2 separate regions of the Homo sapiens genome follow, and region 1 is linked to region 2. The links are contacts of gene promoters, found by promoter capture Hi-C in human tissues and cell types (Jung and others, 2019). All regions are on one chromosome and are shown on one strand. The core of a region is centred on a gene start or on the middle of the fragment in contact, and the rest is flanking DNA. Distances in the headings are between cores, read along the strand shown. Region 1 has its middle 35 kb from the start of PLCE1. Region 2 holds the start of PDE6C (phosphodiesterase 6C).

Region 1 (5,803 bases), core at 1,807-4,306, 350 kb before region 2:
CGGTCCCTTCCTGTACCTCGTCCTCAGCATCTGGAATCAAGAGTCCCATGGCATCTGAGGTGCCTTATGCCTCTGGCATGCCCATCAAGAAAATAGGCCATAGAAGTGTTGATTCCTCAGGAGGGACAACCTCATCAGCCTTGAAAGGTGCCATCCAGTTAGGCATTACCCACACTGTGGGGAGCCTGAGTACCAAACCAGAGAGTGATGTCCTCATGCAAGATTTCCACATGGTGGAGAGTATCTTCTTTCCCAGTGAAGGGAGCAACCTGACCCCTGCTCATCACTACAATGCCTTTCGTTTCAAGACCTATGCACCTGTTGCCTTCCGCTACTTCTGGGAGCTATTTGGTATCCGGCCCGATGATTACTTGTATTCCCTCTGCAGTGAGCCGCTGATTGAACTCTGTAGCTCTGGAGCTAGTGGTTCCCTGTTCTATGTGTCCAGCGACGATGAGTTCATTGTTAAGACAGTCCGACATAAAGAAGCGGAGTTTCTGCAGAAGCTGCTTCCAGGATACTACATAAACCTCAACCAGAACCCTCGGACTTTGCTGCCTAAATTCTATGGACTGTACTGTGTGCAGACAGGTGGCAAGAACATTCGGATTGTGGTGATGAACAATCTTTTACCAAGATCGGTAAAAATGCATATCAAATATGACCTCAAAGGCTCAACCTACAGGCGGCGGGCTTCCCAGAAAGAGCGAGAGAAGCCTCTTCCCACATTTAAAGACCTAGACTTCTTACAAGACATCCCTGATGGTCTTTTTTTGGATGCTGACGTGCACAACGCTCTCTGTAAGACCCTGCAGCGTGACTGTTTGGTGCTGCAGAGCTTCAAGATAATGGATTATAGCCTCTTGATGTCAATCCATAATATAGATCATGCACAACGAGAGCCCTTAAGCAGCGAAACACAATACTCAGTTGATACTCGAAGACCAGCCCCCCAAAAGGCTCTGTATTCCACAGCCATGGAATCCATCCAGGGAGAGGCTCGACGGGGTGGCACCATGGAGACCGATGACCATATGGGTGGCATCCCTGCCCGGAATAGTAAAGGGGAAAGGCTTCTGCTTTATATTGGCATCATTGACATTCTACAGTCTTACAGGTTTGTTAAGAAGTTGGAGCACTCTTGGAAAGCCCTGATACATGACGGAGACACTGTCTCAGTGCATCGCCCAGGCTTCTATGCTGAATGGTTCCAGCGCTTCATGTGCAACACGGTATTTAAGAAGATTCCCTTGAAGCCTTCTCCTTCCAAAAAACTTCGGTCTGGCTCATCTTTCTCTCAGCGAGCAGGCTCCAGTGGCAACTCCTGCATTACTTACCAGCCATTGGTCTCTGGGGAACACAAGGCACAAGTGACAACAAAGGCGGAAGTGGAGCCAGGTGTTCACCTTGGTTGTCCTGATGTTTTACCTCAGACTCCACCTTTGGAGGAAATCAGTGAGGGCTCACCTACTCCTGACCCCAGTTTCTCACCTCTAGTTGAAGAGACTTTGCAAATGCTAACTACAAGTGTGGACAACAGTGAGTATATGGGGAATGGAGACTTCTTACCCACCCGGCTGCAGGCCCAGCAGGATGCTGTCAACACAGTTTGTCATTCAAAGACCCGCAGCAACCCTGAGAACAACGTGGGCCTTATCACACTGGATAATGACTGTGAAGTGCTGACCACACTCACCCCAGACACTGGCCGTATCCTGTCCAAGCTACATACTGTCCAACCCAAGGGCAAGATCACCTTCTGCATGGGCATCCACGTGGCCCATCTGGCTCTGAAGCACCGACAAGGCAACAATCACAAGATCCGCATCATTGCCTTTGTGGGAAACCCGGTGGAGGACAATGAGAAGAATCTGGTGAAACTGGCTAAATGCCTCAAGAAGGAGAAAGTAAATGTTGACATTATCAATTTTGGGGAAGAGGAGGTGAACACAGAAAAGCTGACAGCCTTTGTAAACACGTTGAATGGCAAAGATGGAACCGGTTCTCATCTGGTGACAGTGCCTCCTGGGCCCAGTTTGGCTGATGCTCTCATCAGTTTTCCGATTTTGGCTGGTGAAGGTGGTGCCATGATGGGTCTTGGTGCCAGTGACTTTGAATTTGGAGTAGATCCCAGTGCTGATCCTGAGCTGGCCTTGGTCCTTCGTGTATTTATGGAAGAGCAGCGGCAGCGGCAGGAGGAGGAGGCCCGGCAGGCAGCTGCAGCTTCTGCTGCTGAGGCCGGGATTGCTACGACTGGGACTGAAGACTCAGACGATGCCCTGCTGAAGATGACCATCAGCCAGCAAGAGTTTGGCCACACTGGGCTTCCTGACCTAAGCAGTATGACTGAGGAAGAGAAGATTGTTTGTGCCATGCAGATGTCCCTGCAGGGAGCAGAGTTTGGCCTGGCAGAATCAGCAGACATTGATGCCAGCTCAGCCATGGACACATCTGAGCCAGCCAAGGAGGAGGATGATTACGACGTGATGCAAGACCCTGAGTTCCTTCAGAGTGTCCTAGAGAACCTCCCAGGTGTGGATCCCAACAATGAAGCCATTCGAAATGCTGTGGGCTCCCTGGCCTCCCAGGCCACCAAGGACAGCAAGAAGGACAAGAAGGAGGAAGACAAGAAGTGAGACTGGAGGGAAAGGGTAGCTGAGCCTGCTCAGGGGACTGCATGGGAAGCACGGAATATAGGGTTAGATGTGTGTTATCTGTAATCATTATAGCCTAAATAAAGCTTGGCAAGATTTTTTCCTTCTTTGCTTCAAAAAAAAAAGAAAGAAAGAAAGAAAGAAAGAAAGAAAGAAAGAAAGAAAGAAAGAAAGAAAGAAAGAAAAGAAAAGAAAAGAAAAGAAATCCTGATGCCTAAATCTGACCCCTTGAAATGCTGATGAGCTTCATCTGAGCTGTGTGATCTCTCATGTGCAGCTAAGGTTGAGAACCACTAACATAAAATAATTCACATTAAAATCACCAGGAAGCTTTAATAACATTTCAAATACTTGGACCCAACCCCTAAAGATTCTAATTTAATTGGCCTGGGACTCAGGTACTGATATTTTTCAAAAGCTCACAAGGTAATTCTGAAATTCAGCAAAAGTTGAGAACCACTATTCAGACTAAGTGACTTGTCCAATGTCTCTGGGTGCATCAGACTTTACGGCCTTCCTTACACAGGGGTTGTGAATGAAATATGGCTATGGAAAGCAATTGTTGAGTAATATGTTATAAAGTATGGTGGTGATGATGATGATGACAATGATGACAATATTTCTTGAGTGCGTCCTATGCACCAGGCACTATGCTAAGCATTTTATGAGCTTAATCTTATTGAATCTTCAACATTAGCCTGCTGGTATTATTTTCCCTTTTCCTTGATTATAATATGTCATCAGTTGAGGATGACAATTTAATAACAGTTATTAGAGGCTGTTGCTTGTTAATAGGAAAATATTTATTCAGTCCTCCAGAGACAAAGATTTGCTTTGATCAGAATAAATGTAAATTTTGATTTATTTAACATGAAATGCAAATAAACATGTGTGCTGCTATCAATGCAAATCACTCATCCCATGTGATATCAAATAAGCAGATACCTTCTATGTAGCCCTCCAAGTTCACCTACATTCACAAATGTTACTTATATCTCATACTGGGGTATCCATACTGGGCCTGGAAGCTGGCAAGTTTATTTAGACACATTCCATTTCAGGAATAATAAAATGCAGGGAAAATGTGTATCTTTGAGTCACAGAATCATGGTATTATTCTTATTTTCAGGTGAGACTTTAAAAGATTAAGTGACTTGCCTATAGTCCCAGGGTTCATTCTACAGCCAAGCCAGAAATAACAACCCAGTGCCCCTGATGCTGGAATTCTCCAGAAGCTCCTCTACTGACATAGTTTCCACTGACAAACTTTCCTTGACAAGAATAAAGTAGTCTGTCAGAACAAAATTTTGCCAGCTCTGTCTACTGCCAGCACTTGGAAATAGGAGTCCCATGGGGTTTGCAAACAAATGAAAGCAGTGGTGGGCTTGCAAGACCTCACCAGTCCTTAGAGTTCAGTTGATATGTCTCTCAATACAATGCAGGAACTAATTTTAAAGCATTTTGAAACAAGCACAATAACTGAAAATTCTGAGTTCAACAAGAAACAAATGCATTTAATCTTTGAAGAAAAATCAAGTCAATTAAGAAATGAAAATAGGTTGAGACTAGACGAATAAGAATGGAAATGATCGATTGGAGAAGTTTTCAGCCTTGAACAGGCCATTACCAAGTGGTCAGTATGACCACATTTATCTGATATTATTTGGTCCTTTTCTTTCTTTTAAAAGTACTATTTAGTTATAAGAATCTTAAATGCTGGCTGGTGCAGTGGCTCATGCCTGTAATCTCAGCACTTAGGGAGACTGAGGCTGGAGGATCGCTTGAGCTCAGGAGTTTGAAACCAACCTGGGCAACATGGTGAGACCTTATCTCTACCAAAAGTAAAAAAAAATAGTTGGACATCGTGGCATGAGCCTGTAGTCCCAGCTACTTGGGAGGCTGAGGTGGGAGGATCACTTGAGCCTGGCAGATGGAGGCTGTGGTGAACTGTGATCTTGCCAAGACCGTGTCTCAAAAAAAAGAAAGAAAGAAAGAAAGAAAGAAAGAAAGAAAGAAAGAAAGAAAGAAAGAAAGAAAGAAAGAAAGAAAAGAAAAAAGAAAATTAAACACCACTTTTTAAAAAAAAGCAACAAAGAAAATTTGGACATTAAGAGAATAAACATTCCCATTAATCCCATCTCCACTCTCCTAAGAGATCATCAGTTTAGTGCCTGCTTTTCCAAAAATATATGTCAAAAATGATTTCTCTTTCTTAAAGAGAAAGTATATATCTATAGTCTTAACTTTCCTTTTTTTTCCAACTATATAAATATAGTGGCCACCATACATTATTTTAAGCAGAAGGTAAATTAAACGATCCACTGCGAACACTTTGGATTTCTTTTGTAGCTCCCAATGTTTGTTTGGCAAGATAGAAATGCCCTTAAATGCAGCCTTATTGTCCCAGCTTTAGTAAAATTCTATTTATAAATCAAATCCAAAGTAACCAGAGACGTTGGCATAATCTTTGGTATTCTCTGCCGGTACAGAGAAATCTCAATTTGTGGTTTCCAACATTTGTAAGGTGGTAAATAGCAACCTCCCTCCACTGTTCCTCCCACCTCAAGTCAGCAGGGTGCTGGTAAACTGGCTTGGGTGGGAGTGAGGGGAACCCCTGGTGTGTCGTATTTACTGACTTCCATTGGGTAAATGCTCCATGATTGGCTCACAAAATTTCCTAATATTTAACAATTGGTGTTGAACTGTTCTAACACATCAGTGTCAAGCCATTCGATGACCAATTATGGCACATATATGACCCTTTTATCTTGATATAACACTCATGCAGGCTTATTTCATACATGTAGTCACTGCACCTACAAGAAACGTATAACAGAATGAATGACCCAAAGCCAACAACTGTGGGGAAAAGTGAATTAGACAACATCTCTCTCATATTTCTCTATTTATGAGAGGAAATTCTAGCATATAACCTCCAAGTATGATGAAGTTCTTCTGTAGACATGTAGGTATCAGTATTATGCTAACATTTTTTCTTTTCCTAGATAAAAATAAAGTAGCCCACAAGCCTGGTTTTATGTTATGTTAACATTCATTAGGTATTCTTTGCAATTTTCCCTTTTGCAGCTATTAAATCACTTATTCCTTCAATATTTTTTCCTGCATAATGATTTTTTTATAGAAGCTAA
Region 2 (5,893 bases), core at 606-3,105:
AAGCCCTACCAGGCCCCATGGTAACCCTTGCACCTGAGCGGTGTTCTGTGGTTGTTTGCAGAGAGTCACTCGTGTTTGATGACTTCCACACCTCTTGGGTCCGTGTGACCCTCCCCCTATAATCAGCTTCAGGAGGCATTTAGGAGATTATCCTCCTGCCTCTCCAGCTGCCCTATACACCCCTGCACAGAAAGCATTTCACAAGTTGTTCCCATTCAACTCTGTTCCATCATAATCCACTTTTCCCTTTTTGTTAATGGTAAACTGTAATAATGGACCACATGTGTAGAGAAGGAGCTGCCAGGAGAATCTCCAAGCTGGTACCCTTGATTATTGCTGAGGGGAGGGATGATGGGTGATTAGCATTTCCTCCTCTGGTTTATTTGTATCTTATAATTGTTTAAAAATGAACATGTACTCTAATGGTAAGAATAAAGTTTTTCTATTTCTATAAGGGGCATCTCAATGCCTTGTATTTGTGCAGTATGCTGTTGGTCTTCAAGAGGGTCCAAATGTCCCACTTACTTGATTGGAATTCATTCTTGAAAGATCTGGGTTATGGAGCAGTGGGAGTGGTCAATTGCACTTAACCATCACCTAAATTCACATATGTAATGAATTCCAAATTTGAACATCTGAACTTTCAAATGGCATCATTTTTTCTCTTTGCACATTTGGTCGATAGATGAAAGAATTGATTTACTAGCAAATCCATCCAAAAAACCTGAATGTTTTCGAAGGACTGTGAATGAGAGGCATGGGGAGCAGTTCACAAGTCTTGGCATCTGGGCACGTTGGCCCATCTCCCTAGTGGGGTAGTTTGTTTTGCTGGTGTTGCTGAGAAGGAAAGTCCCCCAGAGCACTGGAGGAGGCGTAAGGGAGGGTGTGTGGAATGCACCAGGGCCAGGTAGGATCACCTGATAAAATGCCAAACTTTACATGGGACATACTTATACTTCAGAAAATAATAATTCATTGTTTATCTGAAATTCAAGTTCAACTGGGCAACTTGAAATTTCATTTGCTAAATTTGGCAACACTAGGCCTGGGTGATCCTCTTCCCTGCCACCCACATTCCCCCGGTTATTGCCAAACTAATGCCACAAGGATAGCACTATCTCTCTTTCCCATTTGTTCCTCCCTGACCCTGCCAAGACCTCTGCCCCACTGTCATAAGGCCACCTACCTTTTTCACATCTGGGACATTATGAGTTTTCTTCGTGTGAGCAGCCCAACCCACTATCCCAATGTCCAATGGAAACACAACTTCTTTGTCAGGGCCCACCAGGTTGTCCTCAAACTTGGAGGTGGGGGTGACATCCAGCAACCTAGAGGCCACCTCAGGTATGCCGTTCCGGGACCGGCACAGGAACATGCTGCAGCGGTCAGCCTGGAGCAGGTGGGCCAGCCTCTGCAGGGCCCTGTGAACCCCCTGCTCTGGGGTGCCCCCCTCCTCCTGCACGGTCCACAGCAGCTCCAAGCACAGGGCTGACTCCTCCACCTGGGTCAGCTCAGAGAAGGACATGCTGGACTGGACTGGCACCTGGCTGTTCTTGAAGATTTCTCCCAGCACCTCCACCCGCAACTTCCTGTCAAAGTACTCCTTGGCAAACTGAGGGTTCTCCTCCAGGTATTTCTCCACGGCAACTTGGTTGATCTCACCCATGGTGTGGCTTGCTTTGCTGCGTTTGTTCAGAAAGGACGACCTTCAGAGCACTACCTGAGGCAGAGTGATGAGAAGGAAATTCATCCTGGTGGAAATTACTGAGGAAACCGTAAATGGTCCCTCATAGGACTTCCAAAGGTCAAGCAGAAAGCAGAGCTTTCAAACTGCCTGTAACTCTTGGGATGTGACAGAAGGCCCTGGCTTAGGGTGGGATTCAGGAAGCACAGGATTAAAGAGTTCTTCAGGACACTAAATCCCTGAGCATTAGTAGCTCATAAGTCCCTAGCGAATCTTCAGAGTATCTTAGATCAGCCCAGCAAGTAGCAAGCTGAGGTGTCTATTCCAGAAAAATAACTGAATGTCGGCTGCTGTCCACAGCAAGGAAGAATCACTGACATATCCATGAATGACACGACATTGGCAACAATTGGCACTTTGAATCGTTCTTGTATGATAGCTATAGGAAGTAAAACTATTTAGACCTCGGAAGTGCTTGGATTTTTTTTGTTTATATAGCAACTGTAATGAACATCTGGGAGATATGGAACAGTTTGCATCACTGCAACATAAAGGTGAATATTAATCTTTCCTTTTCTTAAAAGTCTTTTGATCACCAAGGTTGCTTGGCCTCCTCTTTCTCTAGAACCTTCACCTCTCAATCCCTGTCACTTCAGAAAGCTTGACCTCAGAAGTGTTTTAAAGGAGTAAACCTCAAGCTTATTACTAAAGAGGTGAACATAGCAAAATATTTGCCAATGATCCAAACCTAATCAAGTCATGAATTGAATAATAACCCTTGTCGAGAGACTGTAATTACAAAAGGTAACCTACATAGTTGCTGGCTGGGTTTTTCTGCTAAGTATCTTAGTTAGGATTTTGTTTTCAATAGTAATAGCCAGAGGTCATGCGATTTTGCTACAACATACAGTCTACTAAATCTACTAGATGATAGATATCTTGTCTGTTGCTAGGATCCTTAACGTCTCAGGGGCTACTGGCATAGAAAGAACACTTACCACTACTTAGTTTTGTTTAATGTTCACTTTACTAAGCTTTTACATCTATTAAACACATTTCCTCAAATATTTAAACACTATTATGCAACTAATAATTCAAACTATTAATTCATGAACCAATTGCCTTCGATACTTAAATGTTGGTTTCAAACTTAGTCAAGGTGTTTTAAACACTTCAATAAAGCTACAAACCTAATATGACAAATTCTCTTAAGTGGAAAACACACACATGTTACAGTGACTCTAAAAATTATTGTTACACCCACATTTAAGTTTGCTTCAAAAATAGAAACCCTATGAGTTTCATTGAGTTCTCTAAGATTTACCTCTCTAGATAGTAATCTTTTTCTTTTTTTTTTTTTTTTTTTTTGAGACTGAGTCTCGCTCTATTGCCAGGCTGGAGTGCAGTGGTGCGATCTCAGCTCACTGCAACCTCCGTCTCCTAGGTTCAAGTGATTCTCCTGCCTCAGCCTCCCGAGTAGCTGGGACTACAGGTGGGTGCCACCACGCCCAGCTAATTTTTGTATTTTTGGTAGAGATGGGGTTTCACCATGTTGGCCAGGCTAGTCTTGAACTCCCAACCTCAGGTGATCCACCTGTGTCAGCCTGAGAGATAGTAATCTTAATAGTCACAAAAGAAAGAGAGATCCGTTGAGGTTGCACATTCCCTGTCATGAATTGAGAGATTCTTGGTGGGAAACATGGTTTTCCCAGGGGTACAGAAAGAGTCATTTGTTGAGTTATGCCACTTCTTGTGATTGAGCTTCACCTGCTACCTCAAAGCACCTTGTCAGGTGCACATATTTTCTTGGACTGTCCTATGTCACACTCAACTCTACTCTCAGGAGGTTCCTCTTTGGGTGACTATTTACTTCATAACACCCTGTTATTATAAATAGGATAATGCAGAAGTGTATTTCCCAGGAGAGAGTTGAGTCAACTGAGTCACCCCTCCTATGGGACCATCTTCCTTATCTAACAATTTTGGACACTCTTTTTTACCTAGTTATTTTGTGTGACTCATGGTACAGTTCCTACTTCTCCTGTAAGTATGTGGTGTGCTCACGATTTCCTGGTTTCATCCTTCCCTCTTGAAACAGAGAGGGAAAAACACATATTTGCATTTCATATACAGACTTATACTTAATAGAAAAAGAAAAAACAAAATGCCCATATATGTTCAACTTTCATAATCTTTTTTTTTTTTTTTTTGAGACAGAGTCTTGCTCTATTGCCCAGGCTAGAGTGCAGTGGTGCGATCTCGGCTCACTGCAACCTCTGCCTCCTGGGTTCATGCCATTCTCCTGCCTCAGCCTCCCGAGTAGCTGGGACTACAGGCTCCTGCCACCATGCCCGGCTAATTTTTTGTATTTTTAGTAGAGACGGGGTTTCACTGTGTTAGCCAGGATGATCTTGATCTCCTGACCTCGTGATCCACCCGCCTCGGCCTCCCAAAGTGCTGGGATTACAGGTATGAGCCACCGTGCCCGGCCCATCTTTCATAATCTTATAAAAGTGAATATTAATTTGAAAAAGAAACATCCTATTATAGTCAGCATTCTTTTGTTTTTATAACTAGTTAGAGATTCATTCATTTGTTCATTCTTTCTTTCTTTTTTGTTTTTTTGAGATGGAGTCTCCCTCTATTGCCCAGGCGCGATCTTGGCTTACTGCAACCTCCGCCTCCCGGGTTCAAGCGAATCTCTTGCCTCAGCCTCCGGAGTAGCTGGGATTACAGGTGCATGCCACCATACCTGGCTAATTTTTTTGTATTTTTAGTAGAGACAAGGTTTCACCATGTTGGCCAGGCTGGTCTCGAACTCTTTAGGTAATCTGCCCTCCTTGGCCTCCCAAAGTGCTGGGATTACAGGTGTGAGCCACTTCACCTGGCCTCATTTGTTCATTCTTTCAACATTTGTCTATTGATTGTCTGTTACAAGCAAGGCACCATTCTAGCTATTGTGATAGAGACTTCAAGTTCCCCTTATATTATATGATTGTTTCCTTCTCCCAGTTACATGGGAAGATTACTCTTCCTCCCTCTGGTACAGCCATGTGACTGATTTTAACAAATGGTTTGTGGGCAGAAATATCACTTTCAGACAGGAACAATTAATTGCCAACGGGAGGCTCTCCAGGTCTCTGTTCCCTCTGCTGCCACATCAGTTTCAGATGAAAGGGCCCCTGAATCCCAGAGTGAGGATGTCATGTAACAGAGGCCCCTGGATGACCCGAGATGGACATGTAGCATGATGAGAAATAAACTTGTCTTGTTTTCAGCCTCGGAGACCTGAGGGTTGTTGTTACTGCAGCATCACCAAGACAATTCTGACAGTTACACTTCTACTGTCGGGGACTCAGGGGGTGGTCCCAGCATTACAAGCACTTGTGGTGTGGGAAGGGAGGTAAGACTAGTGCGTAAAAAGCCCATGAGACATAGAACAGAATACAATTAATGCTGGAAGTGAGGCACATGTACATGGCTATCGGAGTTCACGAAAGGGATCATATCTAGTGTGGCTGAAGACAGGGTAGAAATCAAGAGTGTTCAGAAGCAATAGCATGGGGTGTAGGGTAATACAGGGAGGACAGTGAGAGGTGACCCTGAAAAGGTGGGCCGGGCCCAGATTAGAAGGGCTTCAAAGCCTAGACTGAGGATTTTGAATCCTGGACAATTTTTGAAGTGGGAGGCAACATTATTAGTGTTCTTCTTTACAAACTTAAGGAGGAAGATAAGTTGGAGGAAAACAGAATACTGGACATTGGGATACAGATTAAGATACTTTATTGCATTTGGCTTATTATCAAACAACCTAAAAATGTGTATAGGCTTTGACCCCACAATTCTGCTTTTATGAATTCATCTTAGAGAAATAATTAAGAATGTATGTGATTAATATAGTTGCAAGGGTGCTTACCATGAGTGTGGGTATAAAAGTAAAAGATCAGAAATAGCCTAGACACTTAATAGTAGGAGGTTGAGTAAATAAATGGTATTAGATCTGTAAAATAGAAAGCTACGCAGCTATTAGGTTGGTACAAAAATAATAGCGATTTTCCCCATTACTTTTAGTGGCAAAAACCGCAATTACTTTTGTACCAACCTAATAATATTGTTAAAGTCTATTGACATGAAAAAATATTTATGATATGCAGTTAATTACAAACAGTATTGCAGCATAATTCCATTAATATGCACAGACAGAGGTAT

What was found. The method cuts DNA at HindIII sites, captures the fragments that hold promoters and counts their contacts. A contact is called where the count stands out against the background at its distance.
Region 1: a fragment that was not itself captured here is called in contact with the fragment with the promoter of PDE6C in region 2 in 2 of the 25 tissues and cell types used here (mesenchymal stem cells and thymus).

Annotation. Positions count from the first base shown.
Region 1 is chr10:93,955,641-93,961,443 of GRCh38, reverse strand. It overlaps the pseudogene PIPSL. Among named protein-coding and RNA genes, the nearest start is that of PLCE1, 35 kb to the left of the region's middle. The HindIII fragment of the contact is 3,706 bases long and covers 1,204-4,909 here.
Region 2 is chr10:93,608,499-93,614,391 of GRCh38, reverse strand. PDE6C (phosphodiesterase 6C) reads right to left here and starts at 1,855. Exons shown (of 22, transcript NM_006204.4): 1 at 1,187-1,855. The coding sequence starts at 1,666. The HindIII fragment of the contact is 13,972 bases long and covers 1-2,550 here.